Linked DNA regions of Homo sapiens: region 2 is linked to region 1. Evidence: promoter capture Hi-C in 16 types of primary human blood cells and fetal thymus (Javierre and others, 2016). All regions are on one chromosome and are shown on one strand. The core of a region is centred on a gene start or on the middle of the fragment in contact, and the rest is flanking DNA. Distances in the headings are between cores, read along the strand shown.

What was found. Contacts are between HindIII fragments. The CHiCAGO score rates a contact against its expected background, and 5 or more counts as called.
Region 2: a contact is called between a fragment that was not itself captured here and the fragment with the promoter of SMG9 in region 1, in 1 of 17 cell types (fetal thymus). The highest score is 5.3, in fetal thymus.

What each region holds. Positions count from the first base shown.
Region 1 is chr19:43,752,244-43,759,049 of GRCh38, forward strand. SMG9 (SMG9 nonsense mediated mRNA decay factor) reads right to left here and starts at 2,719. Exons shown (of 14, transcript NM_019108.4): 1 at 2,411-2,719. RefSeq lists an enhancer at 1,650-1,909 and a silencer at 2,140-2,499. The HindIII fragment of the contact is 6,293 bases long and covers 2,095-6,806 here.
Region 2 is chr19:44,650,270-44,657,075 of GRCh38, forward strand. PVR (PVR cell adhesion molecule) reads left to right here. Exons shown (of 8, transcript NM_006505.5): 4 at 3,631-3,748. MIR4531 (microRNA 4531) reads right to left here and starts at 3,463; the gene lies at 3,417-3,463. RefSeq lists an enhancer at 4,434-4,493 and a silencer at 6,269-6,469. The HindIII fragment of the contact is 5,987 bases long and covers 1-4,408 here.

The DNA.
Region 1 (6,806 bases), core at 1,469-3,968:
TATATAATGTCTGGCTACCTATGCAACCCACTCTCCACCATTTCAGTATCTGTTTACAGGTCCTTAGAGAGTTTTCCCAGCTGTTCACACATCAGTCTAGGGTGGTATTTGACTACTTAACTGTTTGTAGAACTCAGTGGGGCTATCTGCTCAAGCTCAGAAGTCAGGTTGACAAAGTGTGGCCTAGGGGCCAAATCTGGTCTGCTTTCTGTTTTTGTAAATAGAAAGTTTTATCGGAACATGGCCACATCCATCAATTTAGAAACTGTCTGTGGCTGCCTTCTTGATGCAATGGCAGAGCTGAGACAGACAATACAGTCTGCAGGGCCTAAAATAATTATTCTCTGGCCTTAACAGAAAGTTTTACTGAATGGCCGAGTATGGTGGCTCACACCTGTAATCCCGACACTTTGGGAGGCCGAGACAGGAGGACTGCTTCAGCCCAGGAGTTCGAGACCAGCTTGGGCAACATAGCAAGATCCTGTCTCTATATAACATTTAAAAAAGAAAAAAGTAGCTGGGCGTGGTGACATGCACCTGTAGTCCCAGCTACTTGGGAGGCTGAGGTGGTGGGATCACTTGAGCCTGGGAGGTCAAGGCTGCCATGATCATGCTGCACCACTGCACTCTAGCCTGGGTAACAAAGCAAGACCCTGTCTAAAAAAAAAAAAAAGCAGAACCCTGTCTCAAAAAAACAGTTTGCTGACCCTTGCTTAGCTTGGAAGTATCTGTTAAATCCCTCCATGAATCCTCCCCTGCCCCACCTCATAATGACATAAACAGGTCCCTCCGAGACTCTCCAGAATGGAAGGGTCTGTTTACAAGATGCAGTCATAATTTTGCTAGCCAGACAAGTGGCTTGTCTAGCTCCTCTCCTACTGTGCTACATGACCTCTCCCAGAGCCACAAGCCAGGCTGAAGACTGCTTTCCTAGACAGAGGAGGACAAGGGCCTGTTTACAGCTGCTTAGGGAAAATGACTCATTCCATACCGAAATGACTGCTTAGTCTGGGATGGAGATTCTCCCCAGAATCTGAGACTCCTCCCTCACTTGCAATTAAGTGTCTTTACACATTATTCTGAAATCTACCCAGTGCTTAAGTACTTGTCTTCATGCCTCAATTGGGATACTGCCCAGCCCTGAGGTTTCTGTTTACTGGCCTATGAGGATGCCCTTTCCTGTGCAAAGTAAGCGCCCCTGTGTGAATGCTTTTCTTTTTTTTTTTTTTTTTTTTTTGAGACGGTCTTGCTCTGTTGCCCAGGCTGGAGTGCAGTGGCACGATCTCAGCTGGCTGCGGCCTCTGCCTCCCGGGTTCAGGCAATTCTCCTGCCTCAGCCTCCCAAGTAGGTGGGATTACAGGTGCATACCACCAGGCCGGGCTAAGTTTTGCATTTTCAGTAGAGACGGGGTTTCGCCATGTTGGCCAGGCTGGTATCGAACTCCTGGCCTCAAGTGATTCGCCAGCCTCGGTCTCCCAAAGTGATCGGATTCCCCGGGTAAGCCACCGCACCTGGCCTCCCTGTGCCCTTTATTCTGGGAGCTTCCACAGTATCTGAATGTGGGGAGTTCCTTGGAACTTAAAAGCCCACCTAAACCAGGTGTGGAGGATACAGTGAGCCGAGATCGTGCCACTGCACTCCAGCCTGGGCGACAGAGCGAGACTCTTGTCTCAAAGAAAAAAAAAAAAAACCCCACCCACATGCAAGCTGGGGACTTCCAATGCTGTTTCCGGGCTCCTTTGGGGATTACCCCCAAACTTAGGAAAGCTGGTCTATTTAAGTGTCTGCTGATGGACTTCTAGGGTGACTTCCCGAAAATTAACAAATCGAATTTACATATTTTTGGGGAGTGTCTCCTCAGTATTTAGGCATCGCTTCACACACTCCCTTCGGGGATCTCCCAGAACCTCACTATTTGCAAATATTTGGGGAGACTCTCCCGATTCCTGAGTATGTAAGCCCACTTCGTGGGGCACTCCCCAGCCCAGAACTGTAGTCGATTTGCACATTTTCCTAAGGACTCCCTAGGATTTAAACTTCTCTCTACGGGGTTCTAGAAGGGAGCCTCCCCCGGATTTAGGCATTGCTTTACAAAGCTTCCCTCGGGGAACCCAACTCAAGTTTCTCGTTACACGTTATTGGGGCGGCCTCCCCAGTACTTGACGGGCAGTTTGCAGGCTGTACTTGGATCTCGCAGAGCATAAGTTTCTCATTTACACGTTATTTCCGTCCCCCGCCCCCATTCCTGCCAACCCAGTATCGAATTGACGGTCGCCGGCCCCCTACTCAGTGCCGCACCCCCGCCGGACGTCCCAGCGACCTTTCAATGGCCAAGGCGGGGGCGGGGCCTGCCGGAGCGCCCCGCCCGCCGCCGGTGCGCTAGCCTCGCGCGGGCTCGCGGCCCCCTTACCTAACGCGGCTGCTGATTGGTTCTCGGGGCGCGGTGTGCGCTCTCCCGTGACGGGAGTCGGGTGGGGGCGGGGAGGCTGACCCAAGCCACCCGCCTGCAAATGGCGTCTGGGGGCCAGGAACGTGGGAAGGAGAGAAAATGGGCACTCCCCACTCCGAAACCGGCCTCGGCGTCCGGGTTGCAGCCCCTAAGGAAAGCTGGGCCGAAGGAAGAAGAGGAGGAGGATGTAACGCGGGCCCGAGCTGAGATCAGTTCCCTCAGGCGACTCGTCCTGCGCATGCGCTGAGGGCTGGAGCTCGAGAACTGAATGCGCTCGCCGGGCTGAGCGTGCGTGGATGGAGGCGGTCGGCTTCAGCACGCATGCGGGTTCCGGAGCGGGAGGCGGGAGGACGCCGCGGCTCTGACTCAATGCGCGTGCGCGCGGTTGGGGGGTTGAGGGTGGGGAGATGAGTAGGGAAATGGATACGCCGAGGAGCCGGCAGGAGGGAGAGCGGCCCGGATCTGGGGTTCGAGTTGTGCCTCTTCGGTGATGTTGGCGGGATGCAGTGGGGTGGGACGACAGGGAGGAATTTCACTGTTCTGGGCTGAGTGCCAAGAACACATGAATGAATCAGACTTGGCGTGCGCCCTGGAAGACACCCCGGCCTGTGGAGAGACTGCCAGGGCCTCAAATCACTTAGGAAAGGGCGCGGGTCCGGTTGGACCTTGAAGGACAGGCAGGCGAGGGTACTCCAGGGAACAGCTAAGCAAAGGCGGCGAAGACCCCGGGGGAAGAGGTCTAGACTGGCTTGGATTCAGGGTCCACCTGGGTGGGAGGTGAGGCAGCAGAATGGGCAGGTCAGACCCTGAAGGGTCTCCAGTGTCAGTTTTATCCTTAAGGCCTGGGAGATGCAGAATAGTCTGAGACAGAACTATGTTTAAAACCCTCGAAGGCCGCGTTGGAGAAGGGAATCCGCTCCAGGGTCGAAAATTTAAACACACGTGGGCGGAGTCTTGCGCGCGCCAAAGAGGAACATTGGGCGACGGGCGCGGCCTGGAGAGCGCATGCGCATTCGGAAGGGTCGGCAGTTCCCCAGTGGGCAGAGTGGGTGGATGGGAAGGTTCTAGCTTTTTATTTGAAATTTTATTTATTTTTATTTTATTTATTTATTTAGAGACGGAGTCTCGCCCTGTCACCCAGGCTGGCGTGCAGTGGCGAGATCTCGGATCACTGCCGTCTCCACCTCCTGAAATTCAAGCGATTCTCCTGCCTCAGCCTCCCAAATAGCTGGGATTACAGGCGTCCACCACGCCTGGCTAATTTTTTGTATTTTTAGTAGAGACTGGGTTTTGCCATGTTGGCCAGGCTGGTCTCGAACTCCTGACCTCAAGTGATCCGCCCGCCTCGGCCTCCTAAAGTGCTAGGATGACAGGCGTGAGCCACCGTGGCTGGTCTAAAAAAAAGTTTTTTAAAATTATATTTGAACAGGTATTACATGTACATACACAATTCAAACCTCTCTGGCTGTATACAATAAAAGTAAGTTTCCACCTCTGGTTCCCATTTTCCTTTCCTAAAGCACTGGTTCCCGGTTTCCTTCTGGAGCTGCTGTTATAATAAAGCATTGGAGTTAAGAGCATGTGTTGAGTTCATATAAATAGCGGCTGAGCTTGACCAAGTGACTTAATACTCTCTACTTCTACGTCCCTGTTTGTGAATTGGGTGTGGTATAACCTTACTTACAACATTGCCGCCAGCATTAAATGGGTGAGAGTGCATAGAACAGTGCCTGTTGCCTAATGGTACTGTGTGTTGTCTCTGTGTATTATTTTGTGGTCTACCATGCTGATAGTTGTAGATTCTGAGCAGCCCTCTCCCCTCCAGGCCTCATCCCTACTGTCATTGTCCCAGTACCAGTACCAGGTGGAGCCACCTCTCCAGGCTGCCACAGGTAGAAACACCAGTCACCCAGAATGACTTGAGTCCACTGTTGATGGATTCTGGGGAAAGATTCTGGGTGTTTGATAAAGATACACATGACAGGCCATCTCTGTATTATGTCTATCAGTGTCCAATTTTACTTCTTCAGCTCAGGCCATATCTGAATTTCTCAACCCCAGATCACTCACGATTGCCAGTTTCACGTCAGGGCAACCCTCAGAGGTAGAATTTTCTTAAAAGAGGGAAAGAGGAGGCCTGGCATTGACCTTGGACCCACTGTGTACCAGGCTGTGTGCTCTCTGCTTTATATACATCACTATAATCTTCTCCCCTAATTTGTTTAACAGATGTTGGTCCGCGCAGTGACTCACGCTTGTAATCTCAGCACTTTGGGAGGCCGAGGCAGGCAGATCACCTGAGGTCAGGAGTTCAAGACCAGCCTGGCCAACATAGCGAAACCCCATCTCTACTAAAAGTACAAAAATTAGCCGGGTGTGGTGGCATGCGCCTGTAATGCCAGCTGCTCGGGAGGCCGAGGCACGAGAATCACTTGAACCCAGGAGGTGGAGGTTGCAGTGAGCTGATATCGCACCACTGCACTCCAGCCTGGGTGACAGAGTAAGGCTCTGTCTCAAAAAAAAAAAAAAAAAAAAAAAAAAACAGATGTAGACAAATGAGCCTGGAAGAGAGAAGGGCCTTACCGAAGTCCCCATAGGCAGGAAGCAGCAGGGCCTGGATTCAAACCCGGGCCTGGATTCAAACCCAAGCCTGTCTCACTCCAGAGCAAGCCTACACTTTTTCCCTGGCACCGGGGAGCCAGCCTGGTGATGAGTCAGCAGTACAGTCAGGCACCCAGTGAGCTGCCTTTTGTATTAGTGGCATGGTATGCTGTTCTGGAGATATATCATACTTTAACACTTTCTCTGTTGATGAGCATTTAGACTGTTGCTGAACTTCTGCTCTTACAAACATTTACTGCAGGGGTTTGTGTGTATGTTTCTGTTTTCTAATTTTTTCTTTTTCAGACATGTTCTTGCTGTCTCGCCCAGGCTGGAGTCATGTAATACAGTTGTGGCTCACTGCAGCCTCAACCTCCTGGGCTTAAGCAATCCTCCCACCTCAGCCTGAGGAGTAGCTGGGACCACAGGCATGTGCTACCACACCCAGCTAATTTTCTATTTTTTGTAGAGACGGGGTTTCACTATGTTGCCCAGGCTGTCTCAAACTCCTGGCTCAAGCAGTCCTCCTGCCTCAGCCTCCCAAAGTGCTGAGATTATGCTACAGTTAATATCCTGGTACACGTGGCTGCATGTATATGTTAGTATTGTCAGTAGACTATCTCATTTGAAGTGCAAGTAGAATTGCTGGGTCAAAGGGTATGCACATTGGGAATTTTGAGAGCCATTGCCAAATGATCTGTTCATGTCTTTATTTTTTGTTTTTGAGACAGGGTCTCCCTCTGTCACCCAGGCTGGAGTACAGTGGCATGATCATAGCTCACTGCAGCCTCAGCTTCCCAGGTTCAAGCAATTCTCCTGTCTCAGCCTCCCGAGTAGCTGAGACTACAGGCATGTGCCACCACACCCGGCTAATTTTTGTATTTCTTGTAGAGACAGAGTTTCACCATGTTGCCGAGGCTGGCCTCAATCAATCCTTCCACCTCAGCTTCCCAAAGTGCTGGGACTACAGGTGTGAGCCACTGCGCCTGGCCCTGTTCATCTCTTTTTCACTTTTTGTTCATTTCTTTCATTTATATGTTGAATGAATTATGGAACTCTAGTCATCTGCCAGGCACAGCTGTAGGCTGGAGATCCTGTAATGAATAGGAAAAGCACCTGCCCTTTGGGAGCAGATATTCTAGTGGGGCAGATGACATCAGATAAAGGATGCTTGGAAGAAAAGAAAATCGGGGGTGAGGATTGGGAAGACATTGCAAAGGATACAAAATTTCATTTAGACAGGAGGAATAAATTCAAGAGATCCAGTCCACAACATGGTAACTATAGTTAGTAACAATGTATACTTGAAAATTGCTAAGAGGATAAATTTTCAGTGTCCTCACCACAAAAATGATAAATATGTGAAATAATGCATATGTTAATTAGCTTGATTTAGCCATTGTACAATGTATAAATATACAAAACATGTTGTACACCATAAATATATACAATTTTTATTTTTCAATTAAAAATAAAGTCAGGTGCCGGGCGCAGTGGCTCACGCCTGTAATCCCAGCACTTTGGGAGGCCGAGGCGGGCAGATCATAAGGTCAGGAGATCGAGACCATCCTGGCTAACATGGTGAAACCCCGTCTCTACTAAAAATACAAAAAATTAGCCAAGCGTGGTGGCGGGCGCCTGTAGTCCCAGCTACTCCGGAGGCTGAGGCAGGAGAATGACATGAACCTGGGAGGCGGAGCTTGCAGTGAGCCAAGATCGCACCACTGCACTCCAGCCTGGGCAACAGAGCGAGACT
Region 2 (6,806 bases), core at 165-2,664, 900 kb after region 1:
GGGCCGTAAACAACACTGTCCCTATTGTCTACACCAGTTTACTTGGGCCATAGTCAATGCTGGTACCCAGACTGTCTGCCCTGGCTCCTCTAGCGGCTGTCTGCACGGATACCTGACACTCTGTTGACTCCCTTGAGCACAGTCTACACTGCCCCTAAACTGCCTACACCCATTTCCCCAGGCAAGTATCCACAATGACCCTCCCCACATTGCTACACTGGTTCTTCTGGCCACGATCAACACTGCCTCCCTTATTGTCTACACCCACTCCCTTGTCCTTTTCTTTCTTTCCTTTTTTTTTTTTTTTTTTTGAAATAGAGTCTCACTCTGTTACCCAGGCTGCAGTACAGTGGCATGTTCTCGGCTCACTGTAACCTCTGCCTCCCAAATTCAGGTGGTTCTCCTACCTCAGCCTCCCAAATAGCTGGGATTAAAGGTGCACACCACCACACCTGGCTAATTTTTGTATTTTTAGTAGAGACAGGGTTTCATCATGTTGGCCAGGCTGGTTTCGAACTCCTGACCTCAGGTGATCGGCCTGCCTCAGCCTCCCAAAGTATGCTGGAATTATAGGCATGAGCCACTGTGCCCGGCTTTTTGTTTTGTTTTGTTTTTCCTTTGGACAGGGTCTCGCTCTGTCACCCAGGCTGGAGTGTAGGGGCATGATCATGGTTCCTACAGCCTCACCCTTCCAGGCTCAAGCAATCCTTCTCCCTCAGCCTCCCAAGTAACTGGGACTACAGGTGCAGCCACCATGCCCGGCTAATTTTACAGTTTTTTTCTAGAGAGAGTTTTGCTGTGTTGCCCAGGCTGGTCTCAAACTCCTAGGCTTAAGTGATCCTCCCGCCTCAGTCTCCCGAAGTGCTGAGATTACAGGCGTGAGCCACTGCACCTGGCCCCTTGTCCATTTTCTACACTGCCTTACCATTGTCTACACTGGCTCTCCTGGGCCACAGACAGCACTAACCCCATTGTCTACACCACCTATTTTGGCCACCAGCTGTGGGGTGTTTTCACTGTCTCCCATAGTGTCTACACTGGCTCCTATGACCACTGTCTATGTAAACACCCCACTTTTTCTACACTGGTTCTCCTAGGCACTCTCTAAAGTGCCCCCTGACACTGTCTACACTGACTCCCTGGAGAACTGTCTGCATTCACCTCCCACATTGTATCGACCAGTTCCCCTGAGCCACGATCAACTGTCTCCGCCGGGTGCTAGTTGCATTGATCTTCTCACATTGTTTGTGCTGGCTCCCCTAAGCAGTGTCTGCAGAGTCCCCCAGTGTAGTCTCCATGTTCCTCTGCCCAATATTGTCTACACTGGCTCATCTACAGGCTATCCAGTCTCACCCCACATCACCACACTGGCCTCCTTGTGTTCTGTCTGCACAGCCCCCTGACAGCATCTGTCCTGATTCTCCTGCACAGCGTTACCTCCACCAGCTCCCTCATGGCATCATCGACATTGACACCCACACATTTATCTCCACTGACAGCCCCAGGACTCTCTAACCAGTGCTGTCTAACAGAAATAGCATGCAAGCTGCATATAGGATTTTAAATTCTCCAGCGGCCACCCCATTAAAAAATTAAAAGAAAGAGGCCAGGCACGGTGGCTCACGCCTGTAATCCCAGCACTTTGGGAGGCCGAGGCAGGTGGATCACCTGAGGTCAGGCATTCAAGACCAGCCTGATCAATGTGGTGAAACTCTGTCTTCACTAAAAAATACAAAAATTAGCCAGGCACGGTGGCGGGTGCCTGTAATCCCAGCTACTCGGGAGACTGAGGCAGGAGAATCACTTGAACCTGGGAGGCGGAGATTGCAATGAGCGAGATTACGCCATTGCACTCCAGCCTGGGCAGCAGAGCAAAACTCCATCTCAAAAACAAGAAAAGAAAGAGATGAAATTTATTTGTTTATTTATTTATCTATTTATTTATTTGAGACGGGGTCTTACTCTGTCACCCAGACTGGAGTGCAGTGGCACAGCTCCCTGCAGCCTCAACCTCCTGGGCTTAAGTGATCCTCCCACCTCAGCCTCAGTCTCCTGAGTAGCTGGGACTACAGGCGTGTGACACCATGCCTAGCTAATTTTTGTTTTTGTTTTTGTTTTTGTTTTTTTGTTTTGTGATGAAGTCTTGCTCTGTCACCCAGGCTAGAGTGCAGTGGCACGATCTCAACTCACTGCAGCCTCCGCCTCTCGGGTTCAAGTGATTCTCCTGCCTCAGCCTCCCGAGTAGCTGGGATTACAAGCCCTGGCCACAGTGCCCAGCTAATTTTTGTATTTGTGGTAGAGACGGGATTTCACCATGTTGGCCAGGCTGGTCTCAAACTCCTGACCTCGTGATCCACCCACCTTGGCCTCCCAAATTGCTGGGATTACAGACGTGAGCCACCGCACCCGGCCTATTTTTATTTTTTCTGGAGACAGGATCTCCCTATGTTGCCCAGGCTGGTCTCAAACTCCTGGGCTCAAGTGATCCTCCTGCCTCAACCTCCCAAGGTACTGGGATTACAGGCATGAGCCACTGTGCCTGGCCAAAATTAATTTTTAATAATTGCCTTTACTTAACCCAATATACCTAAAATATTATTTCAACTTGTAATTGTTTTTTTAAAATTATTCTTGAGATCTTTCCCATTTATTTTGTCCTAGTAAAGCCTTTGAAATCTGGTGTGTATTTCGGCCTGGCTATATTTCGAGTGCTCAGTAGTCACATGTGGCCAGTAGGTGCCATATTGGACAGCACAGATCTAGACTAAGCTCCCACATCATCTACACTGGCTCATCCAAATACTGTCTACACACATACACAGAGCCTGTCTTAATTTCGTCAGCTCCCGGGGACACACTGTATATGTGGGGGTGATCTCACCCCCACCACCACATTTTCAACACTGGCCCGACAATATAGCATCTGCTGTAATATTCCAACACCCTGTCTACACTGAACCCATCAGTAATATCCACACAAGCTCTTCTAGACATCATTCATACTGTTCCTCCCACCATTGTCTATACTGCTTACTCCCCGCCAGGCAATTGGTACACAGATTCCCTCAGGTACTGTCTATACTGGAGTCCCTCAACACTGTCACTGGGTCTGAGCGAGGAGGAGATCTACACTGACTCCTACCCCTCGCCCCCGAATAAAACCCTGTCCCATTGGCCTGCCCCCAAGGACATTGAAAGGTCTTCGCTGTCAATCACGTATGGGATGGCTGAGCAGCAGCCTAGAGCAGGGTTATCTGGGACTCTTTCCTGCAGGACTTGTCAGAACCTTGAATACACTGCTGTGTGTTGTGAGTGGTCATTGCCTATGAGTGAGAAAAGGAGGAGGCATTTTCCTGCAGGACACCCAAGACATGCCTGGTCCAGGCTACCCAGGAAAGCTAGTGGAGAAAAGCAGCTCCTCAGAAGCCTTCTCCATGTCCCCACTGACCAAGGACTCCTAGGCTTCTGCTCTCTGTGGCACCCCATCTACCTAGACTCCTCCTAGGCCTCTCCAGCTCCCGCTGTTTTCCAAATATCCCCGGGCCTTTTCCTGCAGTGTCGTGAATCCCGCGTAGCCCCAGGCCCCCCAAAGCCTCCCAGTCTCTGAACCTCTGTATCCATTTCCTGCAGACCCCCCAGAGGTATCCATCTCTGGCTATGATAACAACTGGTACCTTGGCCAGAATGAGGCCACCCTGACCTGCGATGCTCGCAGCAACCCAGAGCCCACAGGCTATAATTGGAGCACGTGAGTCCTGGGTCTCAGGGAGGAGGGGCTGGGGGTCTGGATTTCTAGCACTGAGGGAGGAGGGGCTGGGGGCCTGGACTCCTGGGACTGAGGGAGAAGGGGCTGGGGGCCCGGACCCCTGGGTCTGAGGGACGAGAGGCTGGGAGCCCGGACTCCTGGGTCTGAGGGAAGAGGGGCTGGGGGTCTGGACCCCTGGGACTGAGAGAGGAGGGGCTGGGCCTGGACCCCTGGGTCTGAGGGAGGAGGGGCTGGGGGGTCTGGACCCCTGGGTCTGAGGGAGGAGAAGCTGGGAGCCTGGACCCCTGGGTCTGAGGCAGGACAGACTGGGGCCTGGACTCCTGGTCTAAGAGAGGAGGGAGATTCAGAAAAGAGAAAAAGAGGAGGTTGACTTCGGGCCCCCAGTGGGGGGCATCTCTGTTTTGACATCTCTGTTTTGCGGTTGAGGCGTTTAGCAGGTGGTTGAATCCTGGCTGGTGGATGCACCTGCTTTTTGGGGTGTGCCTGCTCTGTGCCCGGTACTTCCCCCGAATCCCATGTGACCCCATGCTGTGCACAGTCAGCAGCTGTTGCCCTGCCCAGGTTAAAGACCAGCCACGAGAGGGCAGAAGCGGCCCTTGAATCAGCGCTCGGCTCCAAAGCTGGTCCTCCGCCTCTTGGCCAAGCTTGTCTAACCTGCAGGCCACATCATTTGTAAACTTTCTTAAAACATTATGAGACTTTTTTTTTGCGAATTTTTTTAGCTCATTAGCTATTGTTAGTGTTAGTGTATTTTATGTATGGCCCAGGACAGTTCTTCTTCTTCCAATGTGGCCCGGGGAAGCCAAAAGATTGGACACCCCCACTCTAGACTGTAACCACCTCACCGTCACCTTGTGTAACCTACTTGGTTATCTCTGGATGGAGCAAGTACTATATATCCCCATTGTCTAGATGAGAAAGTTGAGGCTCACAGCAATAAGATTTCCCCAGATTCACACTGAGGCTGAGATCAAGAGCAAGGTAAGAAAAAGGCAAAGAGATAATACATAATTTTATAATACATAATTTTACATAAATTACATAATTTTACTGAACCGCCCTTTTTTTTTAAAGAAGGGGCTCTGTTGCCGAGGCTGGAGTGCAGTGGCGTGATCATAGCTCACTGCAGCCTGGACCTCCCTGGGCTCAGGTGATCCTCCCACCTCAGCCTCCTGAGTAGCTGGGACTACAGGCACACGCCACCACACTCAGCTAATTTTGTTGTATTTTTTTTGCAGAGACAGGGTTTTGCCACATTGCCCAGGCTGGTCTGCAACTCCTGGGCTCAAGCAATCAACCCACCTCAGCCTCCTAAAGTGCTGGGATTACAGGCGTGAGCCACCTCGCCCAGCCTTAGGTCTTTTTCCTTATTACAAAAATAACTTGTGTCCACTGTAGAAATATCAAACAATTTAGTTATGAGCAAAAAGAAGAAAGTAGTGCCTATAGTTCAAGTGTACCCAGCCACCTCCAGAAATACCCAGTGACCCCTTATTATACATCCTGTCTTTTTTCTCTCTGTTTCTAAACAAAGACTGGAATTATGCTGTACATATAATTTTGAACCTTTTCGTCTGTCTTGTGAATACCTTTCCATGTCAAAGCACATAGATCCACAACTCCATTTTCCCCCACGTTGTATTAGGAAGACTGTCAAACATACAGAAAAATCATAGGAATTTTCCAGTGAACACTTAAGATTCCACCACGTGGATTCCCCTGCTAACATTTTACTGTGCTTGCTTTATCACGTTTCTGTGATTCCTTCAGTCCCTCTATTCATCCATCAATCATATTATGCATTTCAGAGCACCCCCAGCTCTCCTGCTTTTTTTTTTTTTTTTTTTTTTTTGAGGCAGGGCCTCACTCTGTTGCTCAGGCTGTAGTGCCGTGGCACAATCACAGCTCACTGCAGCCTTGAATTCCTGGGCTCAAGCGATCCTCCAGCTTCAGCCTCCCAGATAGCTGGGACTACAGGCACACACCACCACGCCTGGCTAACCTGGCCCCTTTTTTAGTGTTGCTGGGATTCCACCACTTTAAAAAAAAAATTCAAAGAATAGAGACAGGATCTCACTATGTTGCCCAGGCTGGTCTTGAACTCCTGTACTCAAGCAGTCATCTCACCTGGGCCTCCCAAAGGGCAGGGAAGGGATTCCAACATATGTGGATGTCATCAGTTATTTAACCAGTCCCTAGTAGAGGACACAGATGTCATTTTCCATTTTCAACTCTGCAAATGCCATGGTGGTGTCCATCCCCACTGGTCACTTGTCAGCAGTTGTCCGTGGAAGGAATTGCCGGTCAAAGGTTTTCAACTGGTGTGATGGTGCCTTTACTGTCCTGCCTCAAAGCACCGCAATTCAGGCTCTTGAGCCAGATAGCTGCGTTTGCATCCCAGCTCTGCGGAGCACCCAAAGCCTGATGCTTCCATCTCCTCCACCTCTGTTCATTAAACCAGTGTTCCTTGACTACTTACTGTGTGCCGGGTGCAATTAACCAACATACGTTGGTCGATAAAACAGACCAAATTTCCTCCCCATATAGAGCTTCCATTCTAGTGGTGAAAGAAACAAGAAGCAAGATAAAGTGTGTAGTGTGTGTGCAATGGTGATAAATACCATGGAGAAGACAAAGCAGAGAAGGGAATGGGACTGGGCGCCATGACTCATACCTGTAATCCCAGCACTTTGGGAGGCAGAGATGGGAGGATCACTTGAGGCTAGGAGTTCAAGACCAGCCTGGCCAACATGGCGAAACCCCATCTCTACCAAAAAAGATACAAAAATTGGCCGGGTGTGGTGGCATGCACCTGTAGTCCCAGCTACTCAGGAGGCTGAGGTGGGAAGATTCCATGCACCCAGGAGGTGGAGGTTGCAGTGAGTCAAGATGGTGCCACTGCACTCCAGCCTGGGTGACAGAGTGAGACGCTGTCTCAAAAAAATAATAATTAAATAAATTAAAGAGAAGGGGATGGGAAGGGTGATCATCACAGTTGAAATAGGGTGGCCAAGTGAGGTGTTACTAAGGTGACATCCCA